4 separate regions of the Homo sapiens genome follow, and regions 1, 2 and 4 are each linked to region 3. The links are contacts of gene promoters, found by promoter capture Hi-C in blood cells and fetal thymus (Javierre and others, 2016). All regions are on one chromosome and are shown on one strand. The core of a region is centred on a gene start or on the middle of the fragment in contact, and the rest is flanking DNA. Distances in the headings are between cores, read along the strand shown.

What was found. The method cuts DNA at HindIII sites, captures the fragments that hold promoters and counts their contacts. A CHiCAGO score of 5 or more calls a contact.
Region 1: a contact is called between a fragment that was not itself captured here and the fragment with the promoter of SIK2 in region 3, in 1 of 17 cell types (erythroblasts). The highest score is 5.0, in erythroblasts.
Region 2: a fragment that was not itself captured here is called in contact with the fragment with the promoter of SIK2 in region 3 in 16 of 17 cell types (erythroblasts, naive B cells, M2 macrophages and 13 more); the score reaches 8.9 in erythroblasts.
Region 4: a contact is called between a fragment that was not itself captured here and the fragment with the promoter of SIK2 in region 3, in 1 of 17 cell types (non-activated CD4 T cells). The highest score is 6.1, in non-activated CD4 T cells.

Annotation. Positions count from the first base shown.
Region 1 is chr11:112,021,524-112,025,176 of GRCh38, reverse strand. It overlaps DIXDC1 (DIX domain containing 1), which reads right to left. Exons shown (of 20, transcript NM_001037954.4): 20 at 2,524-3,653. Among named protein-coding and RNA genes, the nearest start is that of DLAT, 2.1 kb to the left of the region's middle. RefSeq lists an enhancer at 618-807. The HindIII fragment of the contact is 1,386 bases long and covers 558-1,943 here.
Region 2 is chr11:111,857,459-111,860,890 of GRCh38, reverse strand. It overlaps ALG9 (ALG9 alpha-1,2-mannosyltransferase), which reads left to right. Exons shown (of 15, transcript NM_024740.2): 5 at 256-344; 6 at 3,154-3,289. Among named protein-coding and RNA genes, the nearest start is that of ALG9, 12 kb to the left of the region's middle. The HindIII fragment of the contact is 1,599 bases long and covers 867-2,465 here.
Region 3 is chr11:111,600,658-111,604,117 of GRCh38, reverse strand. SIK2 (salt inducible kinase 2) reads right to left here and starts at 1,669. Exons shown (of 15, transcript NM_015191.3): 1 at 1,420-1,669. The coding sequence starts at 1,554. RefSeq lists silencers at 904-1,063, 1,614-2,053 and an enhancer at 2,144-2,283. The HindIII fragment of the contact is 10,147 bases long and covers 1-3,460 here.
Region 4 is chr11:112,080,998-112,084,549 of GRCh38, reverse strand. It overlaps NKAPD1 (NKAP domain containing 1), which reads right to left. Exons shown (of 6, transcript NM_018195.4): 5 at 2,515-2,568; 6 at 1-2,085. The coding sequence ends at 1,578. Among named protein-coding and RNA genes, the nearest start is that of TIMM8B, 4.0 kb to the left of the region's middle. The HindIII fragment of the contact is 696 bases long and covers 1,419-2,114 here.

The DNA.
Region 1 (3,653 bases), core at 1-2,500, 420 kb before region 3:
CATCCGAAAGGGTGAGACGGGGCCTAAGAGATGACAAGGGCACGACCGAGGGGGAGGGGCCTAAAAAGGCGCAGAGACGCGGGTTAATTGCGGCCGAGTGGCCTGAGAGTCTGGGCCGAGGGGCGTGGCCAAGCTTTCTGGAAAAGCTGGAAGTGAGCCCGGGAACTGGCTAGGGCAGTGGGAGCCTCAGGCCAAAGGGCGGGGGTCTTGGAGTGCTGGGGTGGTGAAGGAGCCAGGAATCGCCCGCGAGGGAATCGAGGGGTCCGGCGTGGTGACCTCTGCTTCTGCGCATCCGAAGGGGGATGGACTGGGCCGCGCCCCGCGCAGGCTGTACTGGTTGCAAAGATTTCGTTTCAGGTTTGTAGCCCAAGTGGAAAGTGGAGTGAACAGGTGTTCCACCCAGCCAAGTGGTAACGAAAGGCAGCCCAGAGGAAGATACATTCCCGCATTCATGTATACTGTAGCAAGATTAAGCATATTCCCTGTATGAAGATATAGGTTTACAAAACAGGTGTTGCTCCCTAATACCATAGAATTCTTTTAAGTAACCAAAAGCTTCGTTATGTTTCAAATGTTTGAAAAACTTAACTGTAAGCCGTTGAAGGCATGAAGAGTGTCTGCGTGGTCCTTCCATGTAGCCCCAGAGCTTAATATCCAGTAAATAGCGGGGGCTGAATGTATGTCTTTTGAATCAATGAATAAAAAGTCATCTACACATTTTGTTAGGCACGCTTCTCTTGTAAAGTTGTCTTTTAATTAGAAAACATATCGTTTCTGAACTGAAGGTGACATTAGATAAGGAGGAAGCATGTGCTGTGTATCACCACCTCCCCCCTGTAGAGATGGTTAGAGAACACCAAGAACGCAAGAGGAAGTTGGAGGGAAGAAACTTAAAACAAGATTTTAGCCAGGAGCGGTGGTGCATGCCTGTAGTCCCAGCAATGCTTGAGAGGCTGAGGTGGGGGAATCACTTGAGCCCAAGAGTTTGAGACCAGCCTGGGCAACATAATGAGACTCCCATCTGTTAAAAAAAAAAAAAAATGGGGGCTAATCTTGCTAACAATTAATTTGGAAAACTAAAACAGATTGGATGTACTATTTCATGCCTACTTAAATTGGAATGTTTAAGCAGGTACAGCTGTCTATCAGAATAATATGTAAGCAATATAATTGAGAAATATAAAATTTCTAGATTGAATGAAAAGGCATATTTTAAATAATATGAAGAGAGCAATTATATTGTTACAATTATGTACAACTTATGAATTAACAATTGGAAGAAGCAATGAAAGAATAATTGTAATTACTGAAAGGACTTATTACTATTATTTGGGGATGGAGTCTCACTCTGTCGCCCAGGCTGGAGTGCAGTGGCATGATCCCGGCTCACTGCAACCTCCACCTCCCAGGTTCAAGCGATTCTCCTGCCTCAGCCTCCCGAGTGCTGGGATTACAGGCACGTGCCACCATGCCCAGCTAATTTTGTGTTTTTAGTAGATACGGGGTTTCACCATGTTAGTCATGCTGGTCTCAAACTCCTGACTTCAGGTGATCCACCTGCCTCGGCCTCCCAAAGTGCTGAGATTACAGGCGCGAGCCACCATGCCCGCCCAGGACTTATAAATTATTATAAAAATGTTTTTGAGTTGGCTAAAATATCTTGCTGCTTTTGCTGCATTTGAACTTAATAACTGGATCTAAATTAGACTTTGGTATAAAGTATGAGGTGATCTTCCGGATCTGTTGTGCACTTAGGTATGCTTGCTTAAACCCTGTTTTGCATTTTTCAAAGAATAGCGAGTTTGTGTCTTGAATATACTTTTGACTTAAGTGTAGTTAAATTATAGGAATGCATAGCTCAAACAGTCCAGAGATGGCGAGCTTACCCCAGAGGTGGGCTAGGAATGCTTAGGTTTCTCAAATCAGTCCTGAGAGAACAAGCTTGAATTCCACTAAACAGACTGGATAAAGGAAATTATGGAAAAGGAGACTCAAGACTCAAAGGTTTGAAATAGAGATACTTAAGAGAATGGTGATATCACTGATATTGAGAGAAACAGAAATTAGTTGGTAGTGAAAGATTTTGAGTTATGTACATATTTAATTTTAACATAATGGGATAGCCAATTAATAGTTGAAAATACGTAATTGGAAGTCAAATGAAGGCACTCAGGGATAAAGAATTTAATATAGCAAACATTTAAGATGAATTGATAAGAGGCATTTAAGAGGCAGCTTTCAAATGATCTGGGAATTCTGGTCATTTTAAATACACATTTCTGAAAGAGTTCTTAATGCTTGCATACTGACTTTTGTCATAGAGTTTATACTCTTGGGTTCTTATTTGTTTGCATGTTTACATATAATTTCAAAATAAGTGCTAAATAAATTGTCCTTGATAATAGCCTATGTGCTTACATAGAAATACTAATTGTAAAATATCTGTAGCAATAAAGTAATTCTTATCTCCACTCCACATAGTGAGTAAACATGCTACCAGGGAGATCACTTGAGGAAATTTGCTTTCACTAAATGTAAATGGCTTTATTGATTAATCTCATCAGTAAACGCAAGTGAAAATCATTAATGATATTTAGTTTGCAAACCCCATTTTATTCATAGTTTGTGGTTTTTTAAATTAGTTCACAAATCTGGTACATACCGGCAGTTAAAACTGGTTATCACTTTGATAATCAGAAGCCTCTGGTGTAACATAGTCTTCATGAAAACATATTGTAAAACAGGGAGAATACACAGTAATAATCTCTTTGAAAGCAATGGCTGTAAACATCCATGTTTCTAAGAAAATATAACTTTACATATATATGTATTTTAAGCAAGCTATACCTCTTACATAAATTCAGACAGTAGAAGGAGTGTGCAATCATAATGCTTATTTTATGGAAACAGTGAAAATAATTTTAATTATGACCTAAATGCTTTTAAGTAATTAAAGTCCTCTTGAATTGGATGTATAGTATAAAGATATTTTCCCTAATTTGCAACCATCCTGGTCAAAAAGAGCTGAAAAGTTGGTCAGTAAGTAGAAGTGCCATTACCAAGTAAGTTTAAAACAAATTCTTCAAATTTAAAAATGTAAAAATTGTAAAGTATCCCAATCCCCCCAGCTAATTTAGGGAACTGAGCAAGAAGAGAACATTCTTCAGTTTTTAAATGACTTTTTTTTTTTTTTTTTTGGAGATGGGGTCCTGCTCTGTAGCCTAGGCTAGAGTGCAGTGGCATGATCAGCTCACTGCAACCTCAAACTCCTGGGCTCAAGCAATCTTCCCACCTCAACCTCCTGAGTAGCTGGGACTACAGGTGTGTGCCACCATCCCCAGCTACTTTTATAATAAAATTTCTATGTAGAGACGGAGTCTTCCTACGTTGCCCAGGCTGGTCTTGAACTCCTGGGCTCAAGCAGTCTTCCTGCCTCGGCCTCCCAAAGTGCTGGAATTACAGGCATGAGCCACCACACTCAGCCTTAAATGAAGATTTTGTAAGGAATTGAGCATTCAACTAAACTCGTTTTTGTGAGATGGTCATTTTGTTTTAACCTAACATGGTTTAGAGATTATTTTATGAACTCTAAGCATTCTGGTTCCTCAGTTTTCTCAAAGAAAGAGAACTTTAGCAAGTAGCAGGACAAGCTA
Region 2 (3,432 bases), core at 417-2,916, 260 kb before region 3:
TCTATTTTCCACTTGATAGATATAATCTTAGCATGTAAAGAATACATTTTCTTTTAGGTAGGGAGCTTCTCTTCTGTGTCAGAAATAAGAATGTTTGGGTTTCTTATGCACAGTGAATTGCTAACAAACCTGACAAGGTAGTTTTGTGTTTGACTTTAGATCTTCAGTGTTATCTGTGGTACGTGTTTTTCTCCTTTGATTTGAAATGTCTATTCCTAATATTCTCAATGCTGATAGTCTTTGCCTTTTTCCTAGGGCTGTGTGCAAGAAGTTTGGGTTGCACGTGAGTCGAATGATGCTAGCCTTCTTGGTTCTCAGCACTGGCATGTTTTGCTCATCATCAGGTAAGTAAAAGGGCAGATGAGGGAATTGCAGGTCATCACCAGGTAAGTAAAAGGGCAGATGAGGGAATTGCAGGTTCACCAATAGTTCACAGTTGCATTTAAAGGAAGCATTTGTCCAAATGTAGGTTATATTTGTAGAACATGTCAATAATTTGCAGAGCACTGTTATCTACATTATCTTGATTGACCTTTGTAACAATCCTACCATGTAAGTAAGAAAAACATTTTCTCACTTTTGCAGGTAAGGACATTGAAACGTAGATGAAATGATTTACTAAAAGTCAAAATTCATAAATGGTAGAGCTGGTAGTCTCACCAGGATGTTTTCTATTCCATTCTTGCATCAACCACCCACCTCCTTTCTTGGCCATTAGTGGAAAGAAAGTAATTCTTTTATTTTGTTTAAAGAAGTTATTTGTACATAAAGACCTGTTGTTGATGATTCTGTTTTCTACTGATGATACATTATTTGATATGTATTCTATGTGCATCTTCTGCTGGGCTTTCTTTTAATAATAAGCTTCTGGAAATTTAGAATAAAAACCTCACTCTAGAGCATTGGCTTTCAGACTGTTCTGCCATTGAACATTTGTGTTGTATAAGCTGAATCAAGTTGGTCCACTGCCAAATGGTAGTCTATTCCCAGTTCTCCAGAAAAATTAAGTTACTGGATATAATTGTCTCAATTTTAGTTTCTGCTTGTGTGTACCAGGATCTAGTATATACAGAGTATACACAAAAACATAGTATCTGGCACAAAATTATATGCTTACTTTTCCCTTATTGAATATATCAAAATTGATGTTGTTCTGCAGAGATGTCAGGGCTGTACTCCAGAGTGACTTTGAGAGCCTGTCCTAAATGCATCTGTGCTCTACCCTCAGATTCCTCTGCCCCCTTTGTCCTCTACACTGCAGCTGGAACTGACAGCTTTGGATGGCATCATTATTATTTGACATTTATTGGTAAAGGGTGTACCTCAGATGTTTTTTAAGTTGCTTTCCTACTACTTTTTTTCTTTTCTTTTCTTTTCTTTTTTTTTGAGACAAGAGTCTCGCTCTGTTTGCCCAGGCTGGAGTGCAGTGATGCCATCTCGGCTCATTGCAACCCCCTCCTCCCAAGGTTCAAGCGATTCTCTTGCCTCAGGCTCCTGAGTAGCTGGGATTACAGGCGTGCACCACCACGCCCAGCTAATTTTTTTATTTTTAATAGAGATGGGGTTTCACCATGTTGGTCAGGCTGTTCTCAAACTCCTGACCACGTGATCCACCCGCCTCAGTCTCCCAAAGTGCTGGGATTACAGGTGTGAGCCACCGCACGTGGCCTCTTTTCTTTTCAAGTGCAAGGTCTTGCTCTTCACCTAGGCAGGTTAGAGTGCAGTGGCACAATCGTAGCTCACTGCAGCCTTGAATTCCTGGGCTCTAGCAGTCTTTCCACTACAGCCTCCCAAGTAGCTAGGACTATAGGCATGCATCACCATGCCTGGCTAGTTTTAAAGTTTTTTGTAGAGATGGAGTTTCACTGTGTTGCCCAGGCTGGTCTCAAACTCTTAGCCTCAAGCAGCCCCCCACACCTTGGCCTCCCAGAGTACTGAGATTAAAGACATGAGCCACTGTGCCTGGCCTGCTACTCCTACAATTGATCTTTATATGTAGAAAATTCCTTAGAATATCTTTAGTTTTGTAATCTCATTTGAGACACAGATAAGTTGAAGGCATCTTTTCATACAGAGCCTCTGAACCCTTTGCTGAGTTTAAAAAAACCTCACTGCCTATTAATTGTGGTTGTTTTGTAGTTGATACTGATTTTTCTTCCCTACTGATTCAGACTTTCTGCAGCAGAAGAGGCAGATCTGCATTTTTGTTCAGAGTTACTAGAAACACTTTAATCAATTGTTTCTGTTCCAGAGACCCTGTACTCTGTCCTCTGCTGTATAAAACAAGGTTGAGGTAGATGGAACTAATTAGGGGGCTATTTAAAGGCCAGATTATCTGTGTCAGCAGGTGGAGAGTGCAAAGCATTGCTGCCATACAATATCTGGCCCTTGAGGAGGCTTTCTAGAATTTCCGGGGCTAGAGGTTAGGACCAGGACAGTCTCAGAGGACCAATGGAAGATAAGCTTCTTCAGAAGTAAATTGTCAGCAATGGCTCTAAGTCTTTTAAAGCATATTCCCTTCCTGGAAATATAATCATGGGGTGTTCCTGGGGAGCGTGGAATTCTATGAGTTTTTGATTTGAGGTGTAGGCTGGGAGAGGAATTACATGGTTAGAATTGTATAATTGGGTTGGTACCTAAAAAAACAGGAAGGAGAGGCCAGGTGCGGTGGTTCACGCCTGTAATCCCGGTACTTTGGGAGGTCGAGACAGGCAGATCACGAGGTCAAGAGCTCGAGACCAGCCTGGCCAACATGGTGAAACCCCGTCTCTACTAAAAATACAAAAATTAGCTGGGTGTGGTGGCACGTGCCTGTAATCCCAGCTACTCGGTAGGCTCAGTCAAGAGAATCGCTTGAACCAGGGAATCAGGTTGCAGTGAGCTGAGATCCCACCACTGCACTCCAGCCTGGTGATAGAGCAAGACTCCGTCTAAAAAAAAAAACCAGGAGTGAGAAAAATAAGAGTCATTGAACTTCATTTTTTTAAAAAAGAATATCACTTTGCTGTCCTTTCTAATATAGCATTTCCCCAATTATGTACCTGTTTATTGACATTTTATAATGTAGGTAAATTTTTAATCAGTTTTTAATTGATACCTAATTAACCTCGAGCTCTTGTCCTCCTGCCTTTTTTCACTTCTTTACTCTTGCAGCATTCCTTCCTAGTAGCTTCTGTATGTACACTACGTTGATAGCCATGACTGGATGGTATATGGACAAGACTTCCATTGCTGTGCTGGGAGTAGCAGCTGGGGCTATCTTAGGCTGGCCATTCAGTGCAGCTCTTGGGTAAGAAACTAACAGTTCTCCTCCCATATATCGCTGGGCATATAGTAAATCTTAATGTTGGATTAGCTCCATATTGTCTGCATAGAATCTGAAGTTAATCAATTGGGCTTTCAAAGATTCTGGGAAATGGAAGAATATTTCTC
Region 3 (3,460 bases), core at 420-2,919:
ATCTAAATTGCTAACTGGTAAATCTGTGAGAAGAAAATATCTGACCTTGGTCCTGATTCTAAAAGATAAGTCAGATTTGGACTGGTTCAGGACCAGCAGGGGAAGGCAAAAAGTAAAGAAGACAGAATGACATATACCCCTTCCTTTTGGAAACGGGATTAAGCAAAACTTCTAAGTACAACTGCAACTCCAAAAATCACTCACGTTTGCAAGTGCCCTTCGCCTTACATAAGTCATTCTGAAAAGAAGTCCTACTTTATTCTACACTCAAACTCCAGTACATTCGTACTAACAAGGGAAAAAGCAGAATAGGACCAAAACTGGAGGGCAAACAAACAGGAAAAGGATGAAACTCCAGGAGGAACTACAATAAGGCAGAGTAGAGTACGTCAAAACCACTAGGTTTTATTCTAAAGAATGGTTTTGTTTCTACCGTTCTTCTAAGGTATTTAATTTGCACGTCTTAAAATAGAGACCCTGAGGAGAGCAGCTTGAGGCAGTGGAAGGAAGGGGGGCGGGTTAGGTAAGAACAGAGACTTGTGAGAGAGTATGTGCGGTGCATTAGAATGTGCAATGAAGAGGGTGCAGGATTCACCGTCAGGAAGCAGTTGAGGGCTTTATGAGTAGAGGCAGAATCTGATATGGTTTAAAGAATGCGTATTACAGCCAGAATGCACACCTGGTACAGTGACAACCCTAGACAAGTAGAAGACCAATCCACCCACCGTGCAAATGCAGAGATGACCATTTTAACCAGTTCTATTGTCTGGGGCATTAAATGGAAATGCCCCAGGCAAGAGATCAAGCTAGCCAGACACCAAATCAGAGACACCCTGGGCCAAAAGGAAGGAGAGGAGATGGACAGTGGCCGTGGGGGTATTCCCAGCCATGGGGCCCTTCCTCGTCGGGCAGGGGAGGGGCGCCGGGGTCACGGGGGCCGCACGATCCCCCATCCGCGGAGCCCAAGCGCAGGCGGTCCCCTCCTCGGGCCGGCGACGTCTCTCACGGCGCAGCCTGGGAACACCGAGACTTCCCCTCCCACCCCACCCCCAGCCGAAAGCAGGGAAGACGCGGAACTTGGGCTCCGGAGCGGAGGCCACAGACCAGGTCACGGCCCGGGTGGGGGGCTCTGGGCGAAATTCCGGGTGGCCACCGGGGGTGGCGTAGGGGAAAGCAAAGCCCCGGCTGGTTGCGTTTCCAGTCGGACGACACTCGGGTCCGGGTGCCCGGGCCCGATCCCTTCGCTGCTCACCGACCCCCTGCACCTCCTGGGTCCTCACAGTCCCAGGCCCGCTCGCCTCCGCCAGTGAGGCGGCCTCTCGGGTCTCCCCGGTCCCACCACTGCGGCCGCCCCTCTCGGTAAGCAGCTCCTCTCCCGAACCCTCGCCTCGGACGCTCCCGCCGAGCCCCGGGCCGCACCTCCGTCTTGGTGATCCGGTGCCGCCCCAGCTTCACCACAGCGAAGTTGCCCTTGCCCAGCGTGCCCTCGATGTCGTAGAACCCCACCCGGACCGGCCCGCGCTGCAAGTGCCTCGGGCCATCCGCCATGACCATGCTGGGCCCCGCTGCTAGACACGGCGGACAGGAGCGCGGGCGGGCGGGAGGGTTGGCAGCGCGGCTTGGCTTGGGCGACGGCCGCTCCGCTTGCTCCTTCGCTCCTTCGCTCCTTCCCTCCCGCTCCCCAGGGCCCAGCCAGGCGCGCGCCGCCGCTGACGTGCGCCGACGTCAGGGGGCCGGGGCAGGGGGGCGGGGGCGGGCCCGAGCCTGGATTGGTCACCATGGCGACCGAAGCACCGCCGACGTCGGCTGCTGGAGAGTGGGGGACGGCGCACGGGGAGGGGCGCGAGCCTGGCCGGCGCGCTCCTTCCGGGCTCAGACGCCCTCCCCTCGCCCCTCCGCCTCACCGCTGCCAGGGGCGGGGTCGCTGCTCGGCCCGCTCCGTTCCTCGGCCTTCCAGGCGAAGGGCAAGAGCGAGCCCTGGCGGACCGTGCGGAGGGGTGCAGAGACCTGGATGCGGCCTGCGATCTCCTTCCCCGCCCCGGCGTTCTCCGCCCACCCGGGGTCCTTCCCGCCAAAACCTCTCACCTACAAGTACAGCGCGTCCTAAATTTGGCACCGGCAAAGAACTGTGGCTGAGCAATGCGTTGCTCACAGGCTCCTTTCTTTGTGTCCTTTTCTCTTCTCGTTGCTATATATAATAAAACCCTCCACGTTTTGATGTCTCCGAGGAGTCATTCTGACAGCAGTGCAGTCGCTTATAGACTCACAGAATGTCAATGTCAGCGCTGAAGAGATCTTGGAGATCACTTAATCCAGAGATTTGGAGCCTCATGTGAGCTTCAGAGTTTGGAACCCCCTAAAACACAGGCCAGTTTTTGCTTATGTGAGCATGTCTCTGGGGAGATGGACCCGTAGCTTCTGTCAGATTCCCAAACGCGTTGGTGACTCTGAAAAAGTTTAGAAATATTTCTCTAATCCAATTTTTTTCCCCAAAGGACGAAGAAGACCTCAAGGAATAAAGGGAATTGCCTAGGTCACACAGGCAATAGTCGAGGTAGGATTATAAATCACACCACGCTTCCAAATGTGACTCAAGGAAACAGGGACAGTGACACCTCACTATTTTGAGATGTATCATATGCCTTTATATCTTGGTTTCTAAATACCATTCTCCACCTAAAGGAGCCAGACTCCGTGGCGAGATGGCTCATTCGAGGGCAGAGACAGGGAAAGTATAAAATGCCCTTGAAAGATCCTGCTCCTTAAAGCAAGGAGATTTCTTGGCTATGTCAAGGAAGATATGTCAAAAGAAAGCAGATGGCTCGAAGGTGCTCCCCCCTTACCAAATCTGAGACAGTTTGAGTATCAGGAATAAATAATGGGCCGGGCTTAGTGGCTTACGCCTGTAATCCCAGCACTTTGGGAGGCTGAGGCGGGTGGATCACCTGAGGTCAGGAGTTCAAGACTAGCCTGTGTGAAACCCCATCTCTACTAAAAATGCAAAAATTAGCCGGGCGTGGTAGTGGGCGCCTATAATCCCAGCTACTCGGGAGGCTGAGGCAGGGAGAATTGCTTGAACCAGGGAAGCAGAGGTTGCAGTGAGCCGAGATCGTGCCACTGCACTCCAGCCTGGGCGACAGAGCGAGACTCTGTCTCAGTAAATAAATAAATAAATAAATAAATATAGAAATTGATTCTAACACATTGAATTTTTTAAAAGAATCGTAGAGCATACTTACTTTTAAACAGAAAAATAAAGAGGGGAGAAGTGAAATGACGGTGGAATGCCAACTAATATATGTTAGAAGAAATGACAATTAGCAAATCATTTGGCAGCCATTACAGTAATAATGGATTCAGACAATTATCAATAGATGTTAAAATCATTGAATAAAATTTGGCTGGGGAACAAGATATTTGCACAGTCTTTGGATTTCTTATTCATGATAAAGGGTTAACA
Region 4 (3,552 bases), core at 517-3,016, 480 kb before region 3:
GTAGTAATTAGAGACTATTCTTCTCCCTTTAGACCCCCACTAATCCCAAAAATAAAAATACACACCATGGAACACTGACAATTGAGTACCAAAGTATTAAAATTTAAAATAAATATCCCAAAAGGTAGCACCTGCTCATAGTTAAGGGATAGGGCACCTCTGTCCAACCATGTATTTTAAGACCAAGCACTTTATTAGAAATCTGTCCCGTAAAGAGAACAAATTTAGCAGTTAGAACTAAAAATACCAACTCATGGAATGTCATCATAGTTGTATCTACTGCTGGTGTCTTATACTGTCATGCTACTGTGAAGTAATTCCGTATTACACATCAGGAAAGTAAGGCCAGGAAGGTGAACTTACCTGCTCTGGGCCTCCTCATAACCAATGAGTGGCAGAACCAAGACCGAAAGTCTGAGTTTTCAAGCTTTTTACTCAGCCCATTAAGTGACAACCAGGAAAAAATAATACGTCACTTGATCTTTCTTCCCACAGTGAAAAAATGCACTTGCGTTCTGCCAGCCTTCTTTCAGTGATATGTTGGTTTCTTAAGAATTAACATACTAAGGATCACAGTATAGCAAAGGGAATTAATGTGGTCTCTGCTTGGTGCTTTAATCCAAAGGCAGACTGGGAAGAAGTGGATATGTCCCTGAGAAGCCTGTTTCATTTTGGAAATAATTCAACTTAGTTTCAGGGAAAACCTAAACTTCATGAACAGATTTAGAAATGAACAAGACAACATTTAAATGGCAGTTGCTGCCCTGAATCCAGAGTACCATTAGACAACATGATTATTTCCTAATTCTTCCCCATTTGGTACAGGATTATCTATGACAATTGAAGAAATAATTTGAACACAAGTCCATTTAGGCAAATATACAGCAATGGAACTAGAAAACCATTTACTATCCAATTACCATGTTTAGGCATATACTAAGTATAGCTATAGGCCCCATCCAGCAGGGAAATTTGCAAAAACTCTAGTCCCTTCTAATAAGTTGTCTATGGATGTTATCATGAAGGGAAAAGGTTTGTTCTTAGGCCCATGTCCTGATTAAGTAAACCGGACCACACCTGTGGGGTCAAAATATAGAAGGATCAAAGCACCAAGGCTAAAGACAAGTTAGTTGTGACACCTGCTATATAAACAGAGAGCAATACAGTGTTGCCTTGTCATACCATCCTACATGGCATTAGTTCCAATCCACCTCTTGATCCCAGCCCTTGACTTCCCCAAATTCAATATTCCGATTGGTGTACCCAGGTCACTATTGGATCCAGCTTTCTGGGTCCTTTAATTTGCTGTATATGCACTCTACACTAAACGTAATTAATTGCAAAAAAAAATAATCTCTTCAAGAAACCTTCATAACAAAATACCAGATTCCCTTTTAACAAGAAAAGGGGATCAAGCTTAACGCCAAAATAGAAGACAAGACGTCTGTCAGAACATACAGATGGCACAAGACAGCTCTGACCTCAGGCCCCGTGCTGAACAAGAGTCACTGGCAAAACCACAAGGAGTAAGAACTGTAAATATCCACAGTCATGTGGAAAACAAAAGTGTTTCCCATTTAGTCATCCTCTGAGCTCTCAGCAGACCTTTCATCTGTAGCTACTTTCCAATTTGTGCGTTTGTTTGTCCTCTCCTGTATTTCATTGTTGGCTACAGAGGTATGGGCTTTTTTCTCTCTCTTTTTCCTTTTGGTTTTCTTAGTGTCTCTTTCCTCACTTTCCTCAGAACTGCTGGATGCTGAATCATCTGAATGTGAAGTGTTACTTTCTGCCTCTAAGAATAAAGCAGGTTTTTTGAGAGACTTTTTCCTGGATTTTTTCTTGCGTTTATGTGGTTGTTTCCCTTTCCTTGTACCAGAAGCCCCAGTTTCTTCTGAGAACTCACTCGAGGAATCTGCTGTTATATCTGTGGCTTCCTTTTTGCTTTTCTTCTGTTTTTTGTGTGACCTTTTTTTCTGCTTTTTTTTGTGGGATTTCTTTGACTTCTTGTGTTTGCGGGATTCATGGGTAGATGACTTTACCTGGGGAGATGTTTTCTTCCCGTTGGTAATATCTTGCTGATCACTACTAATAAGAAAAGTTAAAAAATAGAAGCTTTTATGTAAAAAAAAAGCGTATTATTTTAATATTTTGCATTCTAGATTAAAAAATTGAGGTTAACATCTGAATTTTAAATAAGCACTTTAATGTATACTTTAACACTTTAATATTCTCATTGAGTTTTTGTTTCCTCATCTTTAAAATGAAGGTAAAAATTCTAAGCTGCCATACTGAGTTACTGTATGGAATACTATATATAAAAACCAAAATGCTTACAGACATGCCAAACATCAACCAGAGAATGGGAAAACAGGGATCACCTCCTAACTAAATCACCTATTGTTTCTCTAGCTACATTTTTGATGGCAAGTATATTCTTCGTAAAAGTTAAGAAATCAATTTATAATACAGATTTTGTACCATCTTAGTTTCTTTCAGTAAGCCTATTTTCCTTACCTGTCTGTTTCAAATTCTTCAGGGTATAACTCTTTATAACCACTGTGACCCCATCTGTAATATGACACATCACATGTATTGTTAAAGCAATGCATACATTTTTGGAAATTAAAGCAACATTAGAAAGACTTTGGAGTACATGCATACACAAACATAAACACAAAGTAGAGATATGGTAGAACCAAGCCCCCATTATAGCTCAGTAACAGCTACATTTCCTGTACTGTACACTATCACTTCAGACATACAAGATTATTTTGTCCATTTGTAAGAGAACTTGCCATTGCTTTCCTTAAGAAACACTAACGAACTCTTACACTCTGCTCTTTAGCTATGAAGCACTTTTCCAAAAACACTTCATAATATCATGCTGTCTACATGGGGACAATTTTTTTTTTTTTTTTTGAGATGGAGTCTCACTCTTGCCCAGGCTGGAGTGCAGTGGCGTGATCTCAGCTCACTGCAACCTCCGCCTCCCGATTTCAAGTGATTCTCCTGCCTTAGCCTCCCGAGTAGCTGGGACTACAGGCACATGCTACCATGCCTGGCTAATTTTTGTATTTTTAGTAGAGATGGGGTTTCATTATGTTGGCCAGGCTGGTCTCAAACTCCTGACCTCATGGATCTGCCCGCTTTGGCCTCCCAAAGTGCTGGGATTACAAGCATGAGCCACCGCGCCCAGCCTTATTATTATTTTTTTCTTTTTTTCTTGAGACAGAGTCTCACTCAGTTGCCAGGCTGGAGTGCAGTGGTGCAATCTCGGCTCAACTGCAACCTCCACCTCCTGGGTTCAAGTGATTCTCCTGCCTCAGCCTCCCGAGTAGCTGGGACTACAGGCGCATGCCACCACGCCCGGCTAATTTTTGTATTTTTAGTAGAGCTGGGGTTTCACCATGTTGGCTAGGATGGTCTCAATCTCTTGACCTCGTGATCCGCCCGCCTCGGCCTCCCAAAGTACTGGGATTACAGGCATGAGCCACAGCACCTGGCCTATTTTTTTTAAATAACAACTTTATTGAAGTATAATTCACATATCAT